Regions from separate parts of the Homo sapiens genome. Here region 1 is linked to region 2. Evidence: promoter capture Hi-C in human tissues and cell types (Jung and others, 2019). All regions are on one chromosome and are shown on one strand. The core of a region is centred on a gene start or on the middle of the fragment in contact, and the rest is flanking DNA. Distances in the headings are between cores, read along the strand shown.

Evidence for each region. The method cuts DNA at HindIII sites, captures the fragments that hold promoters and counts their contacts. A contact is called where the count stands out against the background at its distance.
Region 1: a fragment that was not itself captured here is called in contact with the fragment with the promoter of UMOD in region 2 in 6 of the 25 tissues and cell types used here (adrenal gland, bladder, dorsolateral prefrontal cortex and 3 more).

The regions. Positions count from the first base shown.
Region 1 is chr16:20,295,894-20,301,899 of GRCh38, reverse strand. No RefSeq gene overlaps it. Among named protein-coding and RNA genes, the nearest start is that of GP2, 29 kb to the left of the region's middle. The HindIII fragment of the contact is 7,623 bases long and covers 1-5,677 here.
Region 2 is chr16:20,351,093-20,357,624 of GRCh38, reverse strand. UMOD (uromodulin) reads left to right here and starts at 4,910. Exons shown (of 11, transcript NM_003361.4): 1 at 4,910-4,936. The HindIII fragment of the contact is 15,409 bases long and covers 1-6,532 here.

The DNA of each region.
Region 1 (6,006 bases), core at 617-3,116, 53 kb after region 2:
CGAGGAACTGGCCTATCTTGTCAAGAGTTACCCTCTACTTGGAGCTCCTCAGGCGGAAAAGTAGCACTTAGAATCTTGGTCTCAAAATATTCCTGTCTGTGTTGCTCCTACTGGTGGTGACAGTAAATGAGACTGTGATGAACAAGTGGATGTGACCTGGTAACCACATAATGCTTTTACTATATTTTATTGGCATATAATATACAGATCATGCACATACATCACAAGTACAGCTTGATGAATTTTAACAAAATGAACGCTCCTGTGTAACCATCACCCCGTTCATGAAATACAACAGTGGCTGCTCCCAGAAGCCCCCTCTTGCCCCTCCAGTTCCTACATCTCCCAAAGGCAACCGCTATCCTGACTTCTAGCACCATACGGTGGTTTTGAACTTTATATAAAAGGAATATATATCATTTGAACTCAGTTTCTTACTAACATGTGCAACATTCTCTTTGTGAACCTGATCCATATTGTTGAGTTTAATTATACTTGGATCTCATTCTGATTGCTGACATGATTCTATTGGAAGAATAAAGCCTAATTTATTGATCCATTCTACTGTTGATGGACATGTGGGCTATTTCCAGCTTTCAGCTACTGGTAAGCATGCTGCTTTCTTATTTATGCCTTTTTGGTGAGCGCATAAGCTCATCTTCCTGAAGTGTATATATTCAGCTTTGGTAAATACTGCTAAGCAGTTTTACAAAGTGATTGTAACTCCACCAGTCATCATGGTTTTCACATTCCAAGATTCTTTAGCCTCCAGTATCTAGTAACAATTGACTCTACTTCCTTTGGTTCCAAACACACCCTTGTCTTTTTCTCCTCCAGGACCTTTGCACATGCTATTCTCTTGGCTGTTACAGTCTTTCCAGCTGATCTTCACATGGGCAAGTCCTCACTCTTTGGGTCTCCGTGTACACGTTACTACCCTCAGGACGGCCCTGTGCCTGTTATACTCATGACTTTATGCACAGTATCAAGCCCATGTTCAGTAAATGGTTAGCCCTAAACAAATGTTAGCTAATACTGCTGTTGTTGCAATAAATAGTCTTTAAGTCTCCCTTTCCAAAATTCTGTGACTCTAGGAAGTCAGACTGCCTAACTCTTATCCTGTGTGCGGATCCTGATGTGCCCCAAGGGTTCTAAATCCCTCACAGAAGAAGGGCAGCTGGCAGTTCCCATTTCTCCCGGTCCCCGGAGCTGCATGTGTGGTACCTGCTCTCTACTAAACAGCCAATAGAGGGCACTGTGGGAACACGTCCGCGGAAGGAGGGAGGCGTTGGTCAGAGTTCAGATGACACAGAATTAGAGCTGGAAGGGATCTGAAAAACCCATCTAGACCGAAACCTTCATTTTACAGATGAACAAACAGATGCCCAGACAGGAGATGTGACTTGCCCAAGGTCACACAGCTACTGCGTGGAGAGCGGAGATGACACTTACCCTCTTGGCATTCTCCACTCTGCGGGGGCGTTGCCAAGCACTGAATGAGGCAGCTGGCCCCAGGTGCTGAAGCTTTGAGCCGGCCAAGGCCCCTGTTTGCCAAGCCTATCACTGCCCTCAGTTTTCTCCTCCCTCCTATTCCATGAGAGAAAGGCTCTAGATGTTGGAAGTAGGACAAAACACACACTATCCCTTTGATTTTACAATTATCTTTGAGAAAGCATTTCACTTTCCTTAATAATGACTACCAATTATTGGAACTTTCTAGGTGCCAAATATCATACTGCATGCACTACATGCATTACCAAGAATGGTTTTAGGGTTTATTACCTCCCTTCTGGGAGTCTTTCCCTGATCTCCCGATTGAAAAAGATTGCTCTTCTCCCATTTCCTCTCTATCACACCAGCCAGTTTACTTTCTTCGCAGATCTTATAATTATTTTTATAATCGTTAGACTTACTTACTCATCTACTTATCTATCATCTGTTTCAATTCCTCCCCTCCTTCTGGTAGACTTGAACTCCATGAAAGAAGGATTCTGGAGCTAGATAGGTCTGGGTTCAAATCCCAGCTCATTCACTTACTAGCATTGTGGACTTGCATTCATTACTGAAACTCTCTGAGGCTGTTTCTCCCTTTGTAAAATGGGGACTCGTGCTTGGCCAAAGTTCTTGATTCCTTTGGGCCTCAGTTACCAAATCTAAGGGAGGATAATAACCCTTCATCTGCTGGAGAGAAGAGCCTCACAAGATGCTCTGAAGGTCTTGGAGCCGTGGTCAAAGGAGTACATAATGGCGTTGCCCAGCTGTGGGGCCATGACTGGGCACATGGTTTACAGATGCAAGTGGAACAGAAAGAAGAGAAAATTGGAAGATTTGAATCTAGGAGGCAAGGTTCCACTGTCCACACCGTTAACCATTATATTATGTGCCTTTTCAACCCTAGCTGCATCTATCCTGTCAGTTTCTCAGGTCCACTAACAATGAACCAGTTACTGAACTTAGGCTTCAGCCATCTTATTCCAGGGTTTCTCAAGCTCAATGCTATTTACCATTTTAGAGTTGAAGCAGCTAAGGCTCAGAGAGGTTAAGTTGTTTGCATACAGCTGAAAAGAGTTTGAACTTGTTCCTCTATGGTTTGTTTCATGCCTGGAGCAGTCAATCTTGCTCTCACCAACAGCTGCCAGAATCCAGCCAATAAATCAATGAGATGCCAACAAGGAATCTTCAAACTCATGCTGAGGACACCATAGAATAGATTCATGGGATAATTCCATCCATTCTGGATGTGTCTACATCCTAGCATCTCCCAAGATTTTTTTGTTTAACCCCAAGCTAAATTCCAAGGCTGTTACTTCCCCTTGTCTTGCTGTTGCCCTAAAATGTGTTTATTTCCCTGTGACCCAGAAAAGTCCTCACTCTTGGCAGCCAGAGCGGTGAATCACATGGTGGCTTTTCACCTGCCATTGGCACTAGGCAAACAGTTCACCACTGCTAAGAATCTCTTCCCACCCTTCTTAGAGCTTACTGCTGTTAGGACCTGCACTCAACCATGATGGTTTGTTTATGTGTGTCTCTCTACCTTTCTAACTGGTAAACTCCTTGAGAAAATGAACCATCTTATTCACCCAACACATGTAGTGGAGAAGCTGGCAGTTAAAGATGCTTTATGAATGTTTGTTGAATGGGTAGGTGGATGATGGTTGGATGGATGGATGAAAGGATGAATGGGTAGATGGATAGATGGATAGGTGAATGGTTGAATGAATGAATGGGTAGATTGACGGATGAATAGATGGATGGATGGATGGATGGACAGATGGACAGATGGACGGACAGACGGATGGATGGATGGATGGATGGATGGATGGATGGATGGATGGACGGATGGATGGACAGATGGACGGACAGATGGATGGATGGATGGATGGATAGGTGGATGGTTCAATGGATGGATGAGTGGGTGGATGGATGGATGGGTGGATGGGTGAAAAGATAAATGGATGAAAAGATGGATGGGTGGATGAATAGGTTGATGGATGAGTGAATGGATGGGTGAAACCCATACAACTCTCAATGTGACCACTGCTCACTACCACCCCCATCCAAACCTGTTCAGGTCCTATTCAGCATCTAGAGAAATCTTTGTGAAGATGCACATCTCATCATGTCACCCTTGCCCCCACCTCTGCCTGAAACACGCCAATGCCTTCCCACTACCCTTAGAATAAAATCAAATTTCCCTCCCAGAGCTTACATGGCCCTGCAAGCTGTGGTATCCACTGACTACTCCAGCCTCATTACATATCAGCCTCCCCCTCACTGATGATGTCTGGACACCCTGGCCATCCTTCATTTCCTAGAATGAGCCCAGCTCTTTCCTGCCTCAGGGCCTGTGTCTGAACTTGCTGTTCTCTCTGCCTAGAGTGCACTTTCTCTGACTCTTTGCATGTCTGACCCCTCCTTCAGGTGTCAGCTTCAAAATAAATTCTTGGGAAAATCTTCTTTTCCACCCCACCTAAATTACACCCCCCAACATACATTTTCTTTATAACGCTTGTGTAGTACATCAACATTCATTATAGCACTTTGTTGAACATTTGCATCATTATTTGTTTATATCTGTCTTACCTACTAAACTGCTAAGAGGACAGGGAGAGCAGGGACAATGTCTGCTTAAACTCACAGCTGTATCCTTAGTACTTATCAGGTAGTAGTACTCAGAAATATTTTTAACAGGGGCCTGGTGCGGTGGCTCATGCCTATATTCCCAGCACTTTGGGAGGTGGAGGCAGGTGGATCACCTGAAGTCAGGAGTTTGAGACCAGCCTGGCCAACATGGTGAAACCCTGTCTCTACTAAAAATACAAAAAAAAAATAGCCAGGCGTGGTAGTGGGCGCCTGTAATCCCAGCTACCCACAAGCTGAGACAAGAGAATCGCTTGAACCCAGGAGGCAGAAGTTGCAGTGAGCCGAGATCATGCCATTGCCCTCCAGCTTGGGCAACAAAAGTGAAACTCCATCTCAAAAAAAATGTATTTTTAACAGGTAGATGGATGAATAGACAGACAAGTACAGGATATGTTCTGACATCTCATCAGGCTGAGCACACTAGGGGTACTGCATGAGGACAATACCCAGGTTGTTTTCCTTTCCACTGAGCATCACTGATAAACATATTTAGGGACAGAACCATGGAATCGAACTGCCTTATAGTTGGATAGGATCTCTTTGATCATTAAGACCAACTTTATTTTACATTGGGAGAGATAGAGCCCAAAAGTGGAAGACACTTGCCCAGGGTCATTGTGGTAGGAACTACTTGTTACTAGTAGTTAGAATTAGCAACAGCCATTCTCTTCTTCATTCTAACTAGTAGTAAAGAATAGATACTTATAATCAGAACCCAAATTTTGTTGGTGGTGGTCATATGCTCAATTAGAAAAACTACATTTCCCAGCCTCCCTGTGAGAGAAAGGTGGTCATGGACTAAGTTCTGGCTAATGACATGTAAGTAAGAGTGGAGATATAAGTGTGGCTTCCAGAAAAATCCCCTTAAAAGAAGGTCTAAACCAGAGTGTCCAATCTTTTGGCTTCCCTGGGCCACAGTGGAAGAAGAATTGTCTTGGGCCACACGTAAAATACATTAACACTAACAATAACTAATGAGCTAAGAGAAAACAATCCTAAAAAAATCTCATAATGTTTTAAGAAAGTTTATGAATTTGTGATGGGCCACATTCAAAGCTGTCAGGCTGCATGCAGCCCATGGGTTAGACAAGCTTGGTCTAAACCTTTGCTTTTTCCCCCTTTCTTTTTCTAGAATTCAAGCACAAAGGTCAGAGTTGTCCATTCTATGCCTATGAGGCAGTCTTGATGATGAAAGCCACAAATTAAAGGCAGTAGACCAGAAAGTTAAAAATCTGGAATATTGCTGACATCTTGGACCTACCACAATTACCCTGGATCACCTACCTCTGCATTTTATCTCACGTGAAACAAAAATAAATCTCTTGAATAAGTCATTGTTATTTGGGTTTTCCGCTTATATGCAGCCAACTCAATCCATAGCTGTTATGTTCACTAATGGAATTAGTGGCACAGCCAGGACTTGAAGCTAGGGACTCCATACCTTTCATTGGGACGGCAAGAAAGCTAGTGTGTCTAACCAAATGGACATGGTTAAGGAAATGCTGTCCTGGAGACATTCCTGTAATGCAAGTGTTCTTTTTTTTTTTTGAGATGGAGTCTCACTCTATCGCCCATGCTGGAGTGCAGTGGCGCAATCTCCGCTCACTGCAAGCTCCGCCTCCCGGGTTCACGCCATTCTCCTGCCTCAGCCTCCCGAGTAGCTGGGACTACAGGCGCCCACCACCATGACCGGCTAATTTTTTGTATTTTTAGTAGAGACAGGATTTCACTGTGTTAGCCAGGATGGTCTCGATCTCCTGACCTCATGATCCACGTGCCTTGGCCTCCCAAAGTGCTGGGATTACAGGCGTGAGCCACCGTGCCCAGCCGATACAAGTGTTCTTAAATTGTGGTCCCCAGAAC
Region 2 (6,532 bases), core at 3,661-6,160:
TTCAACACCTTGAAAGGTCTGGCCCCACAGATCTCCTCCTCTCCCTCTCCCCCTCACATTCTAGGCCCCAGCCACACTTCCTGTCTACTCTATGAACAAGCCAAATTCACTCTCTCCTCATGTTCCCTCTGCCTAAATGCACTCCCTTCAAAATACATTTCCCCCAGTTCCTCACATAGCCATGTTCTTTTCTTGGTTCAAATCTCAGCTCACCTGTCACCACCTCCAAAAGGCATTCCTGGAGACTAAAAATTGAAAGCATCTTATTTTGTTGTGCAATGATATATTGCCTGATTCTCCAATTAATATGTAAGCTCCACGAAAGTAGATATATCTATTGTTTTTTTTCTTGCCGTATTCCCTTTGCCTAGAACTCTGCTTGACACATAGTAGATGCTCAATAAATGCTCGTGGATCAATCAAATATTCCATTTTAGGTGAGAAATACATAATTTCATAGTCATCCCAAAAGGCAGAGGTGCTGACAGTGTTGTCCCCAGATCCAAACTGGAATCTGTATTCGTTCCCTATTTTTGATCTGACAAATTAACACTTAAGTGGCTTAAAACAACACAAACTTACTCTCTTAGAGTTCTGGAGGCTAGAAATTAGAAATCAATTCCACTGGACTAAATTCACGAGTTAGTCCCTTTTGGATGAATTCCCTGCTATGCCTTTTCTAGCTTCTGGGAGGCCCCTGCATTCCTTGGTTTATGGTTCTGTCCTAGAATCACTCTGACTTTTCATTTCATCCTTACACCTACTTCCTCTGACTCCTCCTGCATCACTTTTATAGGCACCACTGTGATTGCATCCAGCCTGCCCAGACAACCTCTCCATCTCAGGATCTGTAATCACACTGCACAGTCCCTTTTGCCATAAAAGGCAACACACACAGGTTTGGGGATTCAGAGGTGAACGTATTTGGGGGTCATTATTCAGCCTACCACAGATTTAACTCATGGATTTGTGTCATTCATTTCAGCCAGGCCTTCTCTTGAGAAAAGAAGGGCAGCATTCTTTTAGAAATTGAGGTCTCTAGAAACCACCTGGGTCTCTCCACTCCTCACCTGTCATGTAAGGCAAAGGCTATTTGTGCTTTCTCATACCTCCAGAGACAGCTCCCATGCCCCTCACCCTGAACCTGGCCTGTCCACAACCAGAGGAAGCAGGGAACAGCCTGCGGCTCTGGAACTCACCTGAGCCGAATTCCCCAACAGGAGCAGGTGTTAGTATTCAGGACACGGTGTAAGGCTCACCTGCCTCGGCCTTGAGGTCATGTGGCTGCCAGTTGAAGGAGGGTTACGGGGGGCTGCCTAGACTAGATCATGTGGCATAGAGCCCCTGACAGGCCACGAGCCAGAGAATGGGTGTGCCACCTCCAGGTCCCCCAGGCGTAACTGGAGCCTCAGGAGGTGTGTGCTCAGAGAGGTAGGTGGGACAGGTAATACCCCTCTTTTGGGGGATCTTCTCCCTTGGCTCATTTTTTGCCGCTTTCTGACACACACCAACCTCTCATTCTAAGTTTTTGTGTTCTGTTTGATCAATTTTTCAAAACTCTCCACCCTTTAGTTTCACTCTTTCCAAAACTACCTAAAACCACTTATCCTTCTAAGACCCTGTCATGGCTGAGCATGGAATGTTCTGTAACCCAAGGAATGCAGGTAAATCTGAGTGAGATTTGAGTTTTAGTCTGGATTTAACACTCGCTAGCTGTGTAATCTTGGGGGAGTTACTCCACCTCTCTGAACTTGTCTTCTTCCCTGTGACGTGGGTTGTTGTGTTTCATTGTTTGAGACAATGGAGGCAAAAGCACTGAGCACAGTGTCTGACCCAAGAGAAGTGCTCAGTGGGTGATTGTTCTCAGCATTATTAAGATCAAGTCTCCTACCCATGTTTGAAAGTTAAGAGAGAAAAGTGTTTCAGGCTGGTTGTGGTGGCTCATGTCTGTAATCCCAGCACTTTGGGAGGCCGAGGCAGGCAGATTACCTGAGGTCAGGAGTTCGAGACCAGCCTGGCCAATGTGTACAAAAAAAACACAAATTAGCCGGGCATGGTGGTATGCACCTGTAATCCCAGCTACTCGGGAGGCTGAGGATTCAAGGATTCAAGAGAATCACTTGAACTTGGGAGGTGGAGGTTGCAGTGAGCCAAGACTGAGCCACTGCACTCCAACCTGGGTGACAGAGCAAGACTCCATTAAAAAAAAAAAAAAGAAGAAGAAAAAGAAAGAAAGAAAGAAGAGTGTTTCAAGAGCGAAGTGCTGAGAGATTAAGGTTCGTTCAAAAACAAATATTTATTGTGCACTGTCCTAGAGGTAAGATAAAGAGAAAAATATTGATTGAATTTGGTAACATGGATGTCTTTGGTGAACTTGATGAGCAACAGAGCAGGAAATTATGGCCACTGACAACTTGTTATACTCACAGATCCCAAGAGAAGGGGACACACCACACTGGGCAGAGGGGCTGAAGGGAGAGGAAGAGCTGCTGGGAAGTACCAGGGTCGGTCAGGAAGCAAAGAGAGCAAGGGAAAAGGCAGGAAAGAGCCTTTATTGTAGTTTCTGCAGGAAGGAATGGGAGAGGCAAGGTAAGCAGATTTAGGATTGGCTTAGTTTGAATAATTTCAGAGACCTCTGGGCCATAGGAGTTGTCTCTAGTTGTCTGGTACCTGGTCCCTTGGGGTGATCTAAAGCAGCAAGTAGTGACCCTAAGTGTAAAAGCCCCAAAAAGGAGGCCAAGGGTTGGGGGTATGTGGTCTGGATTGATTGATTTGCAGTCGGAAAGGCACATTCACAGATAAGTCGTTTTTGATCTCTAGTAATTATTGAGCCCTGGGAGGGGCAGTCCCTCCATGATCAGTAAGGCCCCAAAATGTACAAGCACCAAATACAGAAACTAGAAAGCATGGTGATTACACTTATGAATAGATTCCAACCCAAACTCCCCATTTTCCTGCCCAAGTCTTTGTCAAGAAAACTCCAGAAGCCACCTGGGGTCACTGTCTTTAATCCTTTGAAGACACCCATAATAAGGTTTAGACAAGGCCTCATGAAAAAGGTATAGGATAAAAACGACTAGTTCAGAAAAAAAAAAGTAAATAAATGAAGAGATAACTTCCCTTTTCATCAAAGAATTGCAAAAATGAACAATAATGAGATCGTTTCCACTTATCCTTTTGGCAAAGATGAAAGCAAGTTACCAATGCTCAGAACTGGTGAGTAGTGTTGGTGGGATTGTAAACCAATTTATAATAATTCTCTGGGGTGCTGTTTGGGAAGAGGAGTCAATATTCCTACAGCTGTGCTACCTCTTTGACCCAGAATTTCCACTCCTTGGACATAATCCTGAGGAGATGACAACACCAGTGCCAGTGGTTACCCTACCACTGAGTGGGACAGGATGGAGAAATGTCCTGAAAAGAGCAATTCACAATAGCAAAGACTTGGAACCAACTCAAATGTCCATCAATGATAGACTGGATTAAGAAAATGTGGCACATATACACCGTGGAATACTATGCAGCCATAAAAAATATGAGTTCATGTCCTTTGTAGGGACATGGATGAAGATGGAAACCATCATTCTCAGCAAACTATCGCAAGGACAAAAAACCAAACACCGCATGTTCTCACTCACAGGTGGGAATTGAACAATGAGAGCACTTGGACACAGGAAGGGGAACATCACACCCAGGGGCCTATTGTGGGATGCGGGGAGCGGGGAGGGATAGCATTAGGAGTTATACCTAATGTAAATGACAAGTTAATGGGTGCAGCACATCAACATGGCACATGTATACATATGTAACAAACCTGCACGTTGTGCACTTGTACCCTAAAACTTAAAGTATAAAAAAAAAAAAGATCAATGCAGTGATCATGGTGATATTTTCCTGCTCAGCCCAAGTTCACACATATTTTATTTTTCTCAACATGATGACAGCCACTCTCACACTGACTTTTGGAATGTCATGTATGTTGAACTGGGTCTGAAGACATGGTTTTAACTCAGGCTCTGTCATTTTCTACCTCAGTGATTGCACAACAGCAAAGCAGAATTTTCACTACTTCCATGAATATAATCATTACTATATGACTTTACTTGCATCATCTCCTTTGGTTACTATTACTACTGTGGGAGATGGGTATTCTCATTTTATAGACAAGGAAATTGACCTCTGGACCTCAGGAAGGTTAAGAAATGAGCCCACTGCCACACAATAAACACCAGATAAAGGAGGCAGACTGACTCCAAAGTCAGTCTATTTAAGTGCAAATTTATTTCGCCTCCAAAGGGACCTCCCAGTCATCAGACCTGATTCTTTGTTGTACAGAGTGGGTCAGGTCCAGTGATGTCTGAACTACCTTCTGGTTCTGACTTTCAGCCATTCTCAGCTCCTCTCTTGCTTGTGTCTGGATTCTAAGGCTGATCTCATGAGAATGGGTGTTTCAGAAGGGTGCCCTCTCCAAGACAGGTGCACCTCCCATCTGGGGCAGTGAATATCCCTTTTGTCCTTATGCAGCCTGGCTTCAGATACTGGCTTCTGCCTGGCTCCTTGATCCCACCCTGCCCTTGTCAGTGACCAAGAAGAAGCCCAGCACCTTGGCACTGCTTTCCCAGTTAATTTCTAACTATGGAATCTCTTGCTGTTAGAAGGTGCGAAACAGTGACCTTGTATTTCCGGGCACAGGTGTGACCCCCCAATGTCAATCATTTGGGGTCTCTAGCTATTAGGAAAAAGAACAACAACAACCTCACAGCTTGGACAAGGCAAACATTATGCCAGGAGGAAAAAATATTCCACCCCCAAGAAAACAATATCAAAAAACAGAACTAGAGACTAATTGGAGGAGAGATTGCCAGCCTGGGGCAAATGTGTATATATAAGTATGAGGCACATCATGACCAGACTAACTCTACCTTTCTGGCTTCAGGTAAGGCTATCTGTAGCTGTCTTCTCCTAGCCCAGCTTCTCCCCATCCTATTTGAGGGAGGTAGGAGAGGAAATTAAGACCTTGGACACTGGGGTCAGACCTGGATTTGAGTCATTATTCTGCCAATTATTGGCTTCATGATCTTTAGTAAGTTAGTTTTCCTCTCTTTGATCCTCTCTGTCCTAGTAACAATGACTACTATTTTTTGACTTATTCCATGAATATTAGTTATGCACCTATTATGTGCCAGGTACCAGGGTTACAACAATGAACAACTTGCTATGTGCTGGGCCCTGCTCGACATATGTCATCTTAGTTAATCCCAGTGACAATATGCAGTGTTTTAGGTCGCATCTTATTAGCGGGTCATAAAATCATTCCTTTTGTGGGTTATATCCAGGGACTTCTTTTAATTAAATATAATAGAATATGTCAGTAAGCAATACAAATTTGAGGCAAGCAGTTAGCCTCTTTGTCCCCCTGTTTTCTCATCTGCAAACTAGGATAATACTTATCTCATAGGGTTGTGGTAAGAATTAAATCACTTAATGTAGTAAGGATATCAATTGTCTTATAAAATTTTATGTGTGTGTGCACATACATGCAGAAGCGACTGCACTAGATCATGACATAAAATGTTTTTCTTTCTTTCTGTCTTTTTTTTTTTGGGGGGGGGGGATGGACTCTCTGTCACCCAGGCAGGAGTGCAGTGGCACGATCTCAGCTCACTGCAACCTCTGCCTCCCAGGTTCAAGCAATCCTCCTGTCTCAGCCTCCCGAGTAGCTGGGATTACAGGCGCCCACCACCATGCCCGGCTAATTTTTGTATTTTTATTAGAGATGGGGTTTCACCATGCTGGCCAGGCTGGTCTCAAACTCCTGACCTTGTGATCCACCCCCTCAGTCTCCCAAAGTGTTGGGATTACAGGCATGAGCCACTGCACCTGGCAACATAAAATGTTTTTCTTTTAGTACATCATGGTCACGAAGATCTGGAAAACGTTGCTCTAGGACCCAATGCCTTTGAGCACATGAATGTCTTTGAACTGAGCCTGGCCCATCATAGATATTCAGTTTGTGAAAGCAACAATCTCCATTTCACAGACAAAAACGGAGACTTAGTAAACTGAAATACCCACATCACAGTGTTAGTGATCAGTAAAGCAGGGATTTGAACCTCAGGTGCAGGCTGCAGCTCCTACATACTTAACCAACATGCCACCCTATTTTGCTGCTATAAACACTGGGGTAATACTGGCATCCACCCTGGACTATTTTTCCAATTGGAAGAAATAGTAAGTGACCACTCCAGAAACATTTAAATGCATTGTGAAGGTTAATTACCTCTCAAGTTGCTCGTCTCAAGCCACTTCTTTACGATATGTGAGTTGCATGAAGGAGCAGACTGCCATGTTCATTGTTCTCCATGGTGACTAGCTCCCTGTTTGGCACAATGTAGCTACTCAATAGATGTTTGTTGAATGAATAAGTGATCCAGGCAAATTGAAAGTTTCCAGGCAGAGGATCAGTTAAAATCCAAAGCTGCCTTCAGTAAAGTGGTGAGTCCAGAACACTATTCCATCTGGCTACTTCCTG